Regions from separate parts of the Homo sapiens genome. Here region 2 is linked to region 1. Evidence: promoter capture Hi-C in 16 types of primary human blood cells and fetal thymus (Javierre and others, 2016). All regions are on one chromosome and are shown on one strand. The core of a region is centred on a gene start or on the middle of the fragment in contact, and the rest is flanking DNA. Distances in the headings are between cores, read along the strand shown.

Evidence for each region. The method cuts DNA at HindIII sites, captures the fragments that hold promoters and counts their contacts. A CHiCAGO score of 5 or more calls a contact.
Region 2: a fragment that was not itself captured here is called in contact with the fragment with the promoter of IDH1 in region 1 in 6 of 17 cell types (megakaryocytes, fetal thymus, monocytes and 3 more); the score reaches 14.7 in megakaryocytes.

What each region holds. Positions count from the first base shown.
Region 1 is chr2:208,253,001-208,256,320 of GRCh38, reverse strand. It overlaps IDH1 (isocitrate dehydrogenase (NADP(+)) 1), which reads left to right and starts at 1,250. Exons shown (of 10, transcript NM_005896.4): 1 at 1,250-1,382; 2 at 2,362-2,435. IDH1-AS1 (IDH1 antisense RNA 1) reads right to left here and starts at 1,088. Exons shown (of 2, transcript NR_046452.1): 1 at 890-1,088; 2 at 127-418. RefSeq lists an enhancer at 1,016-1,542 and a silencer at 1,996-2,105. The HindIII fragment of the contact is 4,060 bases long and covers 1-2,980 here.
Region 2 is chr2:207,745,695-207,750,265 of GRCh38, reverse strand. It overlaps CCNYL1 (cyclin Y like 1), which reads right to left. Exons shown (of 10, transcript NM_001330218.2): 8 at 3,053-3,219. Among named protein-coding and RNA genes, the nearest start is that of MIR4775, 6.8 kb to the left of the region's middle. The HindIII fragment of the contact is 2,123 bases long and covers 1,154-3,276 here.

The DNA.
Region 1 (3,320 bases), core at 1-2,500:
ACTTGAACCCAGGAGGCGGAAGTTGCAGTGAGCCGAGACTGCACCAGCCTGTCAGGGCAAGACTCTGTCTCATAAATAAATAAATAAATAAATAAATATTGGAGCATTAAATTCTGGGCAGCAATATACAAGCATGCTATTGTCCTACAAATCACAATATAAAATACTCTTTATTTTCATGTTTTTGAGAGCAATGAACACACAAAATATAATCTCTGGAGGAGACTAAAATTCTTTTTTCAATCCACCGTTTTCTAAGGCTTCACATCTCTAGTCCAACTTCATTGGATCACAGATAATCCCCCGCCAACTGAGCATGGTGGCTCACGCTTGTAATCCCAGGACTTTGGGAGGCCGAGGAGGGCCAATCACTTGAGTCCAGGAGTTCGAGACCAGCCTGGGCTGCTGAAACCCATCTCTACCAAAGGAAAAAGAAAAGAAAAGAAAGAAAGAAAAATTAGTTGAGTGTGATTGTGTGCACCTGTAATCCCAGCTACTCGGAAGGCTGAGGTGGGAGGATCTCTTGAGCCCAGGAAGTCAAGGCTGCAGTGAGCGGTGATCGCTCCACTGCACTCCAGCCAGGGCAACAGAGCAAGGCCCTGTCTTAAAAAAGAAAATAATAAGAATCCCATTCATTATCTTCTAATGCAAACAATCAATGGAGTTTCTAAAGACCTAGACATAGGTGGTGTCAGGACCTGCTTCTGTAACTTTTCCATCCTTTGCATTAGGCAGCGCGGAACCCCCTAGGCGACCCCGCGCTGGCCGGGAGCACTCTTTCTTCAGCCAAAGGTACGTTCCATTACCGCCCCTCGGGGGCGCGCTAGGCAGCGGGCCGGCCAAGCTGCCGCCGCCCAGGGCGCCCTGTCCCGTTCGCTTTTGTGCCGACCTGGAAACACTCTGTGGTGCTCTAGATTGTTACAAAGTTCGGGGTGGTGCAGCCCCAGCGCGCCCCGCTCCCCGGCCTGCAGGTGGCATACAAGTCTCTTCGCTGTCGGGATTCGGGACTGAATCTCTGCCGGGCGGCAACCCCTTCCCCCACCGGGATCACCGGGAAAGTGGCACCATGGATTCTCCATCTTTGACTGTGGCCACGCCCCTCTCGCTGACTCCGCCCATCCCACGGGAATTGGCGTGTGGCGATTGGAGGCGTGTCGGGGGCGGGGCTGGGGGAGGTGGGCTGAGGAGGCGGGGCCTGGGAGGGGACAAAGCCGGGAAGAGGAAAAGCTCGGACCTACCCTGTGGTCCCGGGTTTCTGCAGAGTCTACTTCAGAAGCGGAGGCACTGGGAGTCCGGTTTGGGATTGCCAGGCTGTGGTTGTGAGTCTGAGCTTGTGAGCGGCTGTGGCGCCCCAACTCTTCGCCAGCATATCATCCCGGCAGGTAACCTCAGGCTCCAAGGGGCGGCCCCGGTCCCTGGCTGTGGAGGGGTGGCTCTAATTCCGCAGAAGGCAGGAATGGGGTAAAGGAAAAAAGCGCAGATCTTGGGTGTGGAGGGAGTCAAGGCCTGCGTGCAAAGAAGGGAACAAATCCAGGTATTGAGAATGGGAAAAGAAAAGGGAAGGAGGGGATGCTGGATGCTTGGATATGCAGAAGGTCTGCTTTTGGGCCTGGGAGGGAGAAACTGGGCGGTGAGGAAGTTGGATGCAACGACAAGGGGAAAATCAGGTCTGCACTTGGGTTGGAAAATCGAGGGGTGGAAGTTGCAAGAATGCATGTAGAAGACTAAGCCTGGAGTGTAGGAGGAAGAAAACGTGCAGCAGCTGGGGGCTGGATGCAAAGAAGGCTGTAAGCCGCAGACGGGCGTCTGCAGGCAACTCAGGCGGCGAGGAATAGCCTTGAAGCCGATCCCTCGCGTCCGCCAGGGGGCGTGGAGGGGCGGAGCTCCAGCGGCCTTCAGAGGGGTCGCTAGGCCACACGGGGCGAGAGGGGGCTGGGGGAAACACCCCCGCCAGTTCCGGGTGCCTGGAGTTTAAAAGGTCCCAGCACCAGCGAGGGGAGGGGAGGGGAGGGGCGGGCGTGGAGACCTGGAAGGAGGTACCGATCCAGCCTTGATTGCAGCCCTCTTGCACAACGGCCATAAGGACGGGTGCAGGCCAAGAGCAAGGACATGCAAACCCCAAGACCTGCTAACGGGCGGCGAAGCGGGGGCACGCCCTCGCACACGCAGAGATAAATTGTGCTCCCATGACCTTTATTTGGAAAGTGCCTGCGGGCCTAAAATTGGCCTTTGTCCCACCGAGTACACTCAGCACTGTACTTTAAACCGGATAAACTGGGCTGTCTGGCAGGTACTAAAAACAGCTAAATTCTCCTGTGAGTGTTCTGTATGTTAACACTTTTATTCCTTGTTTTGTTTTAGGCGATAAACTACATTCAGTTGAGTCTGCAAGACTGGGAGGAACTGGGGTGATAAGAAATCTATTCACTGTCAAGGTGAGAATTAGCAAATTTTCCCCCTTCTTCTGTACTTTCTTTGATGTGGCAGTACAGTGTTTAACTGGTCTTGGGGGCAGGCCGAGGCACTGCAAGGGAATGAGTGAGGAATATTTCCAACAACGAATTCCAACAGCTTCCTTGTTTCTTTTAATACAGTGTCTTATCTGCAAGAGATCCTTTTTGCCCAGAAATTATTGTAGTTCATGAACTCGGCAAAAAACAATCTGGCCAAAAACTTGAGGTTGATGAAAATAATATTAAATGGCTCTTTTTTTTCATTAAACTACTCTGTATTGTTATTCCAGGTTTATTTTCTGGAATTGCACAATTATGTTAGGAGATAGGATTCAGCTACTTCATATGAGCTGGTGCCTGCTGGTCTTGGAACAGCCCTTCCTTCTGAAGTTGGGATTGGGTTGGAGACAAAATCTGAGGGGCAACAAAGGTGGAGAAGTCAGTCCAGTGGGGCCTCAAGCCCATCCCATGGAAATCAGATCCAGAAGAAATACAATTATGTTCCACATGGTAGTAACAATAAAGCTTCACTGTTTTAGTTAAAAGATGGTAAAAATTTCATGGCTAAGTAATGTGAGGAAAACCTGAAGCGTCTGAAGTATGCATTATGAGATAAAGAAAGATTACTGCAGAGAGTACAGTTGCTTTAACTGAGAAGGAAATAGTGAACTAAAAAGATATCAGTCTTCACATTTTAGGTACAATATTTGACCTCTATTAACTGTATTTGCCATCAAGAATAAATTGCCATGTCATGACTGTTGCATCATACTATATAGGGACATGGCCATGGAAGTGTATTATCAGGAACCAGATAAGTTCACTGCCTCCTTTTTTGCTTTGTTTTAAAACAAGGATAGGTGTGAC
Region 2 (4,571 bases), core at 966-3,465, 510 kb after region 1:
CTTTAAACTTTGGAAGGCAGAAAGATCAAAGGTGGATGTCTTGGCTAGACTAAACCCATTTTATGATATGACTTATGGTAGGTCACTGGACTTAAAAACTCAGTGTTTCTTCTGAGTTGGGAATGAAACCCTGAGGTGCTCAGTATCTACCGTCCTGGTCAGAACAGAATGTAGGAGTGAGCTGAATGCAATGGGAGAGGAAAGGGCTGGGAGTAGTAGTCGGCTACATGACCACACAGCTGCCCTTGCCAAATGCTTAAGCAAATAAACATAAAACTAGAGAAAATCTTAACCACTTTCACAGTAATCCCTATAAGGAGTTAACTGTATAAAAATGATAAATACCTAAACAACATATTTGGTTTCTTGGTTTCAAAGTTTTAATATTTTATCCACTGGGTAAGTCAACAAATGCTTGATGATCTCCTGTATGGAGAGCAGTTAATATGAGCAGAGATGTGGTTTTCTCATTTGCTGAGCTTAAAAACCCAACTGAACCTACTTCCAAAATTAATTTCCTGTTCATATGTCCATAAGCCTATAGAAATGTAAATCAGATAATGTTTTGATAATCAGCTAACCAGGACTTAATTTACTACAGCAATAAATGCACTTCACAATCCCTTTTATATTTTTTCCACTAATACATTTTAACTGTGTAGAAATATAGTACTTCATAGGATTAACACACATATTAATAGAGGTTTAATCACTGAAGAAAAGCATTATGCTTACAGAATATGCATCTTCTAGGTTTTTTGTTTTTTTTTAAATGGCTAGGTGGCTGAATAGCATACCCTTTACAGGCACAGCAAACCGTCTGAATAGCAGCTGCTCAGTTTAACTTATTCTTTTAAAGGGAAATATATTCTAACAGGACATGTAGCTGTTGAAAATTTTTAAGAAAAACCTGATAGACACCAATTTAAAATTGTTTCAATTTAGACTCAAAATGAGACCACTACAAATAGTCAACAGCAGGGGGATGAGACAAATGTATATTAAACAGTTTGTTGAAATGCTTTCCAAAGATCATAAACAAAAGCAGCCTGTTTGTAGCATAGCTCCTGGTGCTTCCCTGGGCATACACAAACAGCACTATTTAGAACTGGTCTTCTTGGAGCTGGCCCCTGCCACCACTGCTCCTGAAGCTTACATCTGTAGAAACCTGCACATTTCCCTGCAGGTTCTCTGATACTGTATCTTGAACTAGAGCACCAGTCAGTTCAGTTGCAGGTTTTGAGAACATTTTAGCTGCCATCATGGTAGGGCTAAGTGTTCATAATAATAAATTTTGCTTCCTTCAAGAAACCAGTTTGCAGACGGATGACAGCAGTGATCAAAGTCACTTTAGTTTCTGCAATTTCCAAAAGTACTTCCATTTGTTTCAAATTCATTTGCTGTCACACCCTTTGCTAAAACGGCTACCAGCAATATCACTAGGGCTGTTCGGTAAACAGTAAAGTGGTCAACTTCACCAGAAGCCACTTCAACAGCTACCACAATTACTGGTTCCTTTTTAGTCACAAGTATCCTCACTTCAGTTGTGAATATATGGTATGGTAATTCTGAATGACAGTCATATGGAGTAATGGGCAAAGGCAATAAAAACAAACTCTTGCCACTGCCTGTCATGACCTTGATCTTCCTCTGCTGCTCAACATCATCAAGAGGTGCTCCTTCATATTTTTCTAAATGCCACCCACAAAGCCATTCTCACTGTCTGGTGGGCACCCTGAGAGCCTTTGCTGGAAATGCCTCCCTGGCTCAGCCTGCCTACCAAGCTCCAAGGCCCTTCCCTTCACGGCCGACACGAGGCCAGCCTGGAAGGAACCCTGATGAAGCTGCTGTTTCAGGGTCATATTGGTGCCATCTGTGAGGAACTCCATGACTCAGCAAGGATCCTTGCACTCTCATAGGTAACTCAAGGCCCCCAAAGTGGTGCTGTGGTTGTCCGAGTGCCCAGGGAGCCTCTCGAGTGTGGTGAGCGTTGGATGATGCCCCAGCAGTGCTTCTCAGACCGCCTGAGGGGAACGCTGGAGCTTCCTAACTCAGGAGACCAATTTCTAAATACAAAAAACACTCCTAATGGGGAGGGGTCAGGGGCACAGGGATCTTCATATCTCAAGGCTTCTGTAAAAACAGACCTTCAGATAAAATGTGGAAAGACTAGCAAAAGCAAATATACAATGTGTGACTCAGGTTGAAGCTACGTAACTTCTCAATAGTCCAGAGGCCCTAAGACCTAATAGTGGCCAAACAATTATTTCAAAGGCCAGACATATGCCCTTTAAGGGCTGTTTATACCCTACTGGTCACATGAAAAGATATAAATGAATGAATGAATGAATGAATGAAAAAGAGAAAGGAGCTTGAACTGGCAGATAACTTTTTAAAAGCCATAAAGAGGCCAGGCGTAGTGGTTCATGCCTGTAATCCCAGCTCTTTGGGAGACGGAGGCGGGCGAATCACAAGGTCAGGAGTTCAAGACCAGCCTGACCAACACAGTGAAACCTCGTCTCTACTAAAAATACAAAAATTAGCCAGGCATGGTGGCGCATGCCTGTAATCCCACTGTAATCCCAGCTACTCAGGAAGCTGAGGCAGGAGAATCGCTTGAACCTGGGAGGTGGAGCTTGCAGTGAGCCGAGACTGCATCACTGCACTCCAGCCTAGGCAACCGAGCAAGACTCCGTCTCAAAACAAAAAATAAAATAAAATAAAGATATTTACTGTGCTATGTTGTTCTGGTAGTATACTTGTAAGATTTTTGCCAAAAACCACCCAAAAAATATTTTTCAATTTATCAAGCAGATTATTACACATCAAAACCTACCAAGTAATGATGGAAAATATGAAGTTAGTTTTTTTTTTTTTGAGACAGTCTTGCTCTATTGTGAACTGTTATACTAAAGATAGACAGATATAGTCTTATGCCTATTTCCATTATCTGCATAATGTAACCTTTAAAAATATTCCTTAAATTGTTAACTTTATAGGAATAAGATACTGGAAAATGGTTAGAAAGTTCACCAAAACCTTACAAACTCACATGTCCTCAACTGTAATGTCCTTGAGGATCTGGCAGTAGTCCACATTCCATACAGCCTGATCGTCCCAAACCTTGGAGGCAAGAAGAATGGCTCCCAGAACAATCCTTTTCCAGTTGGTGGGACAAATGTCGATTTCAGCATAAGTTAAAAGCCTTTCTAAGTAAACCTGTAAAATAGAGCACTGGTCTTTGATTTTAGTTCAGTTTAAATGCTTTGATAAGCTTTTTTTTTTTTTTTGAGACGGAGTTTCACTCTTGTTGCCCAGGCTGTAGTGCAATGGTGCGATCTCGGCTCACAGAACCTCCGCCTCCCAGGTTCAAGTGATTCTCCTGCCTCGGCCTCCCGACTAGGTGGGATTACAGGCATGCGCCACCATGCCCAGCTAATTTTTGTATTTTCAGTAGAGACGGGGTTTCTCCATTTTGGTCAGGTTGGTCTCGAACTCCTGATCTCAGGTGATCCACCAGATCCTCCCAAAATGTTGGGATTACAGGCGTAAGCCACCGCGCCCGGCCCCGAAATGCTTTGATAAGAATTCATGACTGACAAATTTCTTTTGTTTTTGACCAGAAAATAAGTGCCTTTTATTCTTATGTTCTACAGAGACTTTGCTTACTCAGCCAAAGCAAGACACTAAATCACAGTTGTAGGTCAGATATCTCTGCTGCCTATTCTGCCCATATACATTTCCCACCCAGTCACAGGAATGACTGGACATCTCAGCAAACAGCATCATCAAGAGAGGCACTCTTATCACCTCCACACCCATAATAGAGTTGTTCAATAAATAATGAGTGCCTACCAGGTACAATGTATCATACTTGCATGGTAGATAGTAATTTTACAGGTAGCTATATTATGCTCAAATATGTAAAACCCAAGTAATACTGAGCACATTTTTACCTTCTCCTTTTCACAGTAACTAACCCTTTTGTGGCACTAGCTTGAAGAACTGCTGGTCAAGAGAGCCACCCAGTGGCTGCTGTGCAGAGCAGCATGACAGGTCTTTAGGCTGTAAAATATTCCCCGTATTCAGTGCCTCCACAAGGAACACAGATGGACAAAAGGATGTCTCTGGACCCCTGGTATTCCTCTAAACCTGCCAAGCAGTTTATGAGACAATTTCATGAATTATTTTACATCTACCAAACATCCTTCAAAGAACTGAGCAAAGTGAACAGCTGAGTAAAGATTTCAGAGGTAAGCTGTAATTTGCTGTTACCTCAAAGGGTTCTCTGTGGAAGAGTATGTCTATATGCTGTTTGAACTCTGTATCAAGACAAAAAGAAATCTTTTTAGGCTGGAGTGCAGTGATGCAATCTTGGCTCATTGCAACCTCTGCCCCCTGGGTTCAAGCGATTCTCCTGCCTCAGCCTCCCAAGTAGCTGAGCACCCGCCAGCACGCCTGGCTAATTTTTGTATTTTTAGTAGAGACGGGGTTTCACCATGTTGGCCAGGCTGGTCTCAAACTCCTGGCCTCAAGTGATCTGCCCACCTCAGCCTCCCAAAGTGCTGGGA